Linked DNA regions of Homo sapiens: regions 1 and 2 are each linked to region 3. Evidence: promoter capture Hi-C in 16 types of primary human blood cells and fetal thymus (Javierre and others, 2016). All regions are on one chromosome and are shown on one strand. The core of a region is centred on a gene start or on the middle of the fragment in contact, and the rest is flanking DNA. Distances in the headings are between cores, read along the strand shown.

Region 1 (2,700 bases), core at 83-2,582, 170 kb after region 3:
ATTTGTAAATATAAATCTTCCAGCGGTGAATGTTCCTTTGAGCTTTGCTTTGAGTAGATCCCATTTCCTGATGTACTGACAAGTAAACAGTCATTTGATAAGCAAGCACATTTGTTCAGTTGAGTGATCATTGTCCTGTGGAGATAATTGGGTGATCTGCCCTTTGGATAAATATGTTTTCAGGAAGTCTCTTAAACAATAAAATTACTCTTAATAATTTTCTGCCCTTCCCAGTGAGACATTGTATTTTGTGCACCATTGACATCAAACTTGGCGTTGTAGCTTGTTATAGACAATGGAATGTTAACAGATGGTCCATTGTGGGATTCTGCCATTGTGGAATTCTGCCATTCCTCTTTTCTCTCTGCCTCAAGATCAGCATGTCCCAGATTGGGGTGTTCCTTTGTCTTGGGTCCCAGAATGAAGAAGATGTGGAATAGAGGTGCAGCCAATCTGGGAAGGACATGCAATGGGAGCAAGAAATAAATCTTCATTGTTGTAAATTGTTGAGATTTCGGGATTATTTTTTATTGTAGCAAAAAGTAGCACAAGTGCCTAATACAGGACATGTCAAATATATAGATATGTATCCTTTGTATGTACCTTTAAATATTGTATTATATATAACATACAACATATAATATATAATGTACATCTAAATATGATATAGTAACATCTTTTGAACCAATAATGTATAAGTACATTTTATGCAACTTGAAACACAATTTTTGTTATTTAAATTATTATTATAAAGATTTATAGCTGTGCCTTTGCTATATGCAAAATTTGCTATTTGTTATACGACAAATTTTGCAGACAGTCATGATTCATTTGATGCCAAGTCTTTGGGCAAAAAAATTTCCCTATTACAGCTCCGTTTCTTTGAGGAAATCCCATTGCTGTATACCCATCAGCTTTGGGACATAGTTCTAGAAATTCATTAATATAAAAAAAAGACTTTTTTTCTTGTCATTTTCAAATTCTGATTTTATCAGTCCTTAAAACAGGTAAAAATAACTGATAAGGAGAATGACATCATATATCTTTATAAATGTCTCTCAGAAAATAAATATTTTGAGCACGTGGAGAAAAGGAAAGGCTTATATACTGTTCTTGGGAATGAAAATTAGTACAGCCTGTATGGAAAGTAGTATGGAGAGTTCTCAAAGAACTAAAAATAGAACTACCATTCAACCCAGCAATCTCACTACTGGGCATCTACCCAAAAGAAAACAAGTCAATATATCAAAAAGATAGCTGCCCTCATATATTTATTGAAACACTATGCAAAATAGCAAAGATACGGAATGAACCTGTGTCCATCAACAGATGAATGGATAAAGAGAATGTGGTATATATACACAATGGAATACTATGCAGCCATAAAAATGAAATCATGTCATTTGCAGCAACATTGATGAAATTGGATTTCATTAGCATAAGTGAAACAAGACAGACATAGAAAGACAAATACTGCATATTCTCACTCATAATTGGGTGCTAAAAATTTGTTCACATTGTTGTAAAGAGTGGAATGATAGATAATGGAGACTTGGAAGAGTCTGGAGGTGAGAAGGGGGAGGATGATGAAGAGTTGGTTAATGGATATAATGTATGTTATTTCGGTGATGGATACCCTAAAAGTGCTGACTTGACCACTACACAATCTATGCACATAACAAACTTGCACATATACCCCATATATTTGTACAAATAAAAAGGAAAAGAAAAATGAGTGTTGTTTCAGCGTCACTGATCATTAGAGAAATGCAAATCAAAACTACCACGATTTAGTTCTACCTGAGCTATTGCTGTTTTATTTTAAAAACTACAATGAGATAGCATCTCAACCCAGTTAAAATGAATCTTATCCAAAAGATAGGCAATAACAAATGCTGGTGAGGATGTGGAGAAAAGGAAACCCTCATACAATCTTGGTGGGAATGTAAATAAAATAGTGCAAACACTACAGAGAATAGTTTGGACGTTCCTCAAAAAACTAAAAGTAGAACTACCTTATAATCCAGCAATCCCAATGCTAGGTATATACCCAAAAGGAAGGAAATCAGTATATTGAAGAGATCTCTGACTCCCATGTTTATTTCTGCACTATTCACAATAGCCAATATTTGGAAGCAACCTAAGTGTCCATCTGCAGACAACTGAACAAAGGAAATGTGGTACCATACACACAATGGGATACTATTCAGCCATACAAAGAATGAGATCCTGTCATTTGCAACATTATGGATGGAACTGGAGGTCATTATGTTAAGTGAAATAAGCCAGGCACAGGAAAACAAACTTTGCGTGTTCTCACTTATTTGTGGGAGCTAAAAATTAAAACAGTTGAACTTATGGAGATAGAGAGTAAAAGGATGGTTACCAGAGTCTGAGAAAGGTAGTAGGTGGTGGATGAGGGAGGGAGGAAGAAGGTTGGTAAATGAGCACAAAATATAAATAGATAGAATAAATAAGATCTAGGATTTGATAGCACAACAGGGTGTCTACAGTCAACAATAATGTATTGTACACTTAAAAATAACCAGAAGAGTATAATTGGATTGCTTATAACAAAGAAATAATGAATGCTTATGATGATGGACCCCACTTACCATGACATGATTACTACACATTATATGCCTGTATCAAAATATCTCATGTACCCCATAAATATATACACCTACTATATGCCCATGA
Region 2 (2,700 bases), core at 166-2,665, 140 kb after region 3:
GCTTAGGGTGGCCAAAGGTTTCGTAAACAAGGTAATAGTAAACATGAGCCATAAAGGAAAAGACTGCCAGGCGTGGTGGCTCACACCTGTAATCCCAGCACTTTAGGAGGCCGAGGCAGGTGGATCACAAGGTCAGGAGATCAAGACCATCCTGGCCAACATCGTGAAACCCCATCTCTACTAGAAATACAAAAAAAAAAAAAATTAGCTGCGCTTGGTGGCGCGTGCCTGTAATCCCAGCTACTCAGGAGGCTGAGGCAGAAGAATTACTTGAACCAGGGAGTCGGAGGTTGCAGTGAGCCGAGATCGCACCACTGCACTCCAGCCTGGCAGCAGAGTGAGAGTTCATCTCAAAAAAAAAGGAAAAGACTTTCAAATTCCATCCTCCATTAGAATTAAGAACTTGGATTTAGCAAAAGACACTATTAAGAGAGTCAGAAGGCAAGTCACAGAGTGGGAGAACACTATACATATACACACACACATATATACACATATGTATAGTATTCTGAAAACGAGCCTGTTGTTAGGAAATATATATATACACACAGGATATAAAAATAGATTTTTGTCCCAACATGCACATATCCAGAATTTACAAAGAACTTTTACAAATCAGTAAGAGACAACTCAATAGAAAAATGATATTTGAACAGGCACTTCACAAAAGAGACTATCAGCGAATAAACATAAGGGCTTTCTAGAAGAGTAAAAGAATACTGATACAGAAACTATAAATAAAATACCATTCAGGGAGGAGACTGATTTGCTGGATATGTATAGGCCAATACCGAAGCTGTCCTACTGTTCACTATGAAGGCCTTGAATGGCAAGCTAAAAAATTAGAAAACCAGAAATTCCACAAACAGGTTTTCCAAGGAACATGTATCACAAGCTACCAGTTACCATACTTAAGAAAATAAAGTGTTCTCAGGAAACATTGGGTGTTCCAGTTACTCTCGCTATCTAAAATATTACTTTAAAACTTAGTGGCTTAAGACAACCATTTACTATGCTTATGGATTCTGTGGGTCAGGAATTCAGAAAGGGCACAACAAAGATAGCCTATCTCTGATCCAAAGTCTGGGGCCTTAGCTGAGAAAACTCAAGAACTGGGTGTGATCTGATCACTGGAGGCAGGAGTCATCTGGAAGTATCTTTGTTCATATGCTTGGTGACTGATGCTGTTGTCACATAGGCTGTTGGCCTGGAACACCTGCATGTGCCTTCTCCATTTGGCCTGCCAATATGGGCTACTTAAGCTTCTTCAGAAAATGGTGGCTTGGTTCCAAGAGCAAATGTCTCAAGAGTACCAGATTAAAGTTGTATCACCTTTTATGACCTACCCTCAAAAGTCACATAGCATCACTTCCATGTTAGACAGAAGCCCATCAATATTCAAAGACAGCATGTTCTTTGTACAATATGACTGTGACATTTCTACTGAGAGGGGTCAGTAGAAGAAGTGTCAAAGTCATATTGTAAAAAGAACATGTGGTATGGGAGTTACTATTGTGGCCATCTTTGGAAAACACAATCTGCAAAGTTAAGTTAAACACAAAGGCACATAAGCTTTACTTCTGAGGAACTTTTTCAAAGCACACCGATAAGAACTGAGAATGCTTTAGAGGGGGACATAGTATACAACAGGGGTCCACAATCCCTGGGCCATGGTCTGGAACTGGTTAGGAACCAGGCCACATAGCAGGAGATAAGCGGCAAGCAAGCATTACTGCCTGAGCTCCGCCTCATGTTAGATCAGTGGAGGCATTAAATTCTCACAGGAACGCAAACCCTATTGTGAACTGTGCATGCGAAGGATCTAGGTTGTATGCTCCCTATGAGAAACTAACGCCCAGTGATCTGAGATGGAACAGTTTCATCCCAAAACCATCACTCCCCACTCCCCACCATTTGTGGAAAAATTGACTTCCACAAAATGGGTCCCTGGTGCCAAAAAGGTATTCGACCTTCTTTTTTTTTTTTTTTTGAGACGGAGTCCCGCTCTCTCGCCCAGGCTGGACTGCAGTGGCGCGATCTCGGCTCACTGCAAGCTCCACCTCCCGGGTTCACGCCATTCTCCTGCCTCAGCCTCCCGAGTAGCTGGGACTACAGGCGCCCGCCACCACGGCCGGCTAATTTTTTTGTATTTTTAGTAGAGACGGGGTTTCACCGTGTTAGCCAGGATGGTGTCGATCTCCTGACCTCGTGATCCGCCCATCTCGGCCTCCCAAAGTGCTGGGATTACAGGCGTGAGCGGCCGCGCCCGGACTCAACCTTCTAAAAACTGATTTGACTATATTTCATTAATGGTGATCCTACTAATCTCTCTCATTAATACCTCATCTCCTTCCTCAGAACAGTTTGGGAAGATGTTGGAGGAAAGATAATCTGGTGGATTTAAAAGGCAGAGGGACTGGATTAACTGGATTAAACTAGTTTTTTTTTTTTGTTTTTTGAGATGAGTCTTGCTCTGTCGCCCAGGCTGGAGTGCAGTGGCGCGATCTCGGCTCAAAGCAAGCTCTGCCCCCGGGGTTCACGCCATTCTCCTGCCTCAGCCTCCCGAGTAGCTGGGACGACAGGCGCCTGCCACCATGCCTGGCTAATTTTTTGTATTTTTAGTAGAGATGGGGTTTCACTGTGTTAGCCAGGACGGTCTCGATCTCCTGACCTCGTGATCCACCCCTCTCGGCCTCCCAA
Region 3 (2,700 bases), core at 1-2,500:
TCAAGGTGATCACGACGTGCCGACCCAGTCTAGATTTTGAGTTCTGCAGAAAATGCAATTTTAAAGGAAAAGGACCCGCCTGCCCTTCTTCGGCAGTTCGTTTGGCCCAGGCCTTCGATCAGCTGAAAGTTTCCGATCTAGGGGGATGTCCAGGCTGCCGGCGGAGCAGAGCCGATAACCCCCCTCTCCTGCGCGTTCCCCTGAGACTTGGCCTCCGCAACCTGTCCCAGCCGCGGAGCAAACTGCTCTGCGGCCCGCGCGAGTGCGCCCCAGGGCTTCGCCGCTGCCGGGCGTCCCCTCCATCCACCTCGGGACCCGCGCCATCACCGCGGCGGGGTAAGAAGCTCGGAGGCGCCATCCCGGGGCTCTGCGCCGTCCGCTCTCCCGGCTCCTGGCCGCTCACGCACACAGCCGGTAGCTGGTTTTCGTTAGCCGCTGCCCTCGCCCAGAAGGCGGGTGGAAGGTCGCCAGTTGGACGCACAGCCAAACTCTTAGCGCACTCCCGCGCGAGATCCCCCATCACCCGGGGCTGCCGTCCTCATTTCGAGCTCTTTCTAGAGCTTGGCTCCCGCTGAAGCGCAACTTCCGCGCCCAAACCTTGCTTTTACGACGGGCGGTCCGCGTCCAAAGGTCTCTTACAGGCCTGCCCTTTCAGCTCCTCGCCCTCCCTTCCTCCCCTACCGGCCCCCTCCCCTGCTCTGGCCGCCCGCTGCAATCCTTTGGGGTCTGTGGCTGAGTGGGGAACCGCCGACCCGCGATCCGGAACGCGACTTTGAGGCCGCCGGGAGCATCCTGTGGCCTCTCTCTGCGCGGCCACCCGGCCGCGGCGCGAAGCGGTCTGGAGGGCGAGCCCTTCCGCGGCCCCAACTCTGCCGCCCCGTTCCCGGCATTGGGAACCAGGGCAGGGAGGGGGCGGGTGTTTCTCTGCGGGGGAGTGGGGAGGAAGCTGGGCGGGTGCGCGCGGTGCCCCGAGCCTGGAACCACGGAGGGCGCGTTGGTCTTGGGCGGATGGAGGGGGTGTCGCACTGCCGCGGGGAGGCGTGTCGGGAGGCTGGGGCCAGTGGCAGTCGCTTGGCGAGGGTGGGGGCGTAGCGCTGCGGTGGGAGGAGGCGGCTCCGGCCCTGGTCTCCACTCTAGGCCGGGGTGGGGGGCGCATAGCGGCCGCCGGAGCTTTCAGCAGGGGGCGCTGCTCCGGGCGTTGGGCGGGGGTGGGGTGGGCCAGGAGGGGGGGCCGCGGGCTGGCCGCGCACACTTCCCCCATTATTAAACACTATGTTCAAAAGGCGCCGGGGGACTTCCCGGAGCCACGGAGCCCGCGCCGCCCGCCCGCCCGGCCCACGGAGCCCATGGACCTGAGCGCCGCCGCCGCGCTGTGCCTTTGGCTGCTGAGCGCCTGCCGCCCCCGCGACGGGCTGGAAGCGGCCGCCGTGCTGCGAGCGGCGGGGGCTGGGCCGGTCCGGAGCCCAGGGGGCGGCGGCGGCGGCGGCGGCGGCGGGCGGACTCTTGCCCAGGCTGCGGGCGCCGCGGCTGTCCCGGCCGCCGCGGTTCCCCGGGCCCGCGCCGCGCGCCGCGCCGCGGGCTCCGGCTTCAGGAACGGCTCGGTGGTGCCGCACCACTTCATGATGTCGCTTTACCGGAGCCTGGCCGGGAGGGCTCCGGCCGGGGCAGCCGCTGTCTCCGCCTCGGGCCATGGTCGCGCGGACACGATCACCGGCTTCACAGACCAGGCGACCCAAGGTACTTACGCCTCTTCTGTGCCCGCCCATCCCGTCAGGTCCTGGGCTGAGACCAGCCCCGGAGCCGTGCCGCAGCTCCGTTACATTTGGAGCCGCGGCCCCATGCGGCCCACCCTCAGGTGATAGAAAGAAACTTCGCCGAGGCCAACACTCTCCAGCCCGCTGCACCTGGACTGTGGCGAGAGTCGCGGCAGCTCCCGGGGCCCAGTCCCAGAGGGCTGACTGGTCCCTCTCCCAGGTCTCCCTGGCCTTGCAGGCCGGCTGGTCCCCTCGAGGAGGCAGGCGGAGGCCAAGATTCGCTTCTTGGGGAATGGTCTGGAGTGGCCTCGGAGCCCTCAGAGAAGAAAGGAGGGCAAGAGCTGTGTTCCCGGGAGTCACGGCGAGAGGGACTGCACGGTGGTGAGGGTGATGGCTCCTTCCTTGCAGCAATTTCTGCAGCTCCCAGTCTCCTGCGGGCCACACAAATTGGGGGAAGCCCAGGGAAAACTAGGGCAGAGGCAGGTATCAGACTAAAGTAAATGGCCCTGGAGAGGCTGGTGGCATAACCAGGTATGAGGAGTGCCCTGCTCAGCAGGTTGGTCTGGGTGGTGGTGGTTTGTGTGTGTGTGACATGTGCAGCTATGGGTGCCTGTGTCTGGTGCTGGGCCCCTGGGAGAGCCAGAGGTCAAGGATCCTGGTGGTGTGGGGAGGAGAGGCCTGCTGGGGACCCTGCAGGAATGCAGGCCTCTCTTAGACTAAGCACCCCACCTTGTTCTGCCCTGGGCCTTCCAAAGGTAAGATGTAGGTGAGGCTGTGGTGTGGCTGCTGTATGTCATCTGGATTTTATTAATCTCCATTGAAATCATTAAAGCAGACAGATAGAGAAAATTTACCTAATTTCAGGCGGAAATGCAAGTAATTTCGGCCTTAATTCTATCCAGCCAGAGACCCAGCATGGAGGGCAGGAGGGAAAGAAAGGCGAATA

Evidence for each region. Contacts are between HindIII fragments. The CHiCAGO score rates a contact against its expected background, and 5 or more counts as called.
Region 1: a contact is called between a fragment that was not itself captured here and the fragment with the promoter of GDF7 in region 3, in 1 of 17 cell types (total B cells). The highest score is 6.9, in total B cells.
Region 2: a contact is called between a fragment that was not itself captured here and the fragment with the promoter of GDF7 in region 3, in 1 of 17 cell types (total B cells). The highest score is 6.5, in total B cells.

Annotation. Positions count from the first base shown.
Region 1 is chr2:20,837,888-20,840,587 of GRCh38, forward strand. No RefSeq gene overlaps it. Among named protein-coding and RNA genes, the nearest start is that of LDAH, 16 kb to the left of the region's middle. The HindIII fragment of the contact is 2,855 bases long and covers 1-2,700 here.
Region 2 is chr2:20,809,046-20,811,745 of GRCh38, forward strand. The region is part of intron 1 of LDAH (lipid droplet associated hydrolase); the gene reads right to left. Among named protein-coding and RNA genes, the nearest start is that of LDAH, 13 kb to the right of the region's middle. The HindIII fragment of the contact is 310 bases long and covers 1,261-1,570 here.
Region 3 is chr2:20,665,894-20,668,593 of GRCh38, forward strand. GDF7 (growth differentiation factor 7) reads left to right here and starts at 1,251. Exons shown (of 2, transcript NM_182828.4): 1 at 1,251-1,737. The coding sequence starts at 1,347. RefSeq lists enhancers at 1-824, 1,811-1,930 and silencers at 911-1,020, 1,091-1,140, 1,181-1,330. The HindIII fragment of the contact is 16,143 bases long and covers 1-2,700 here.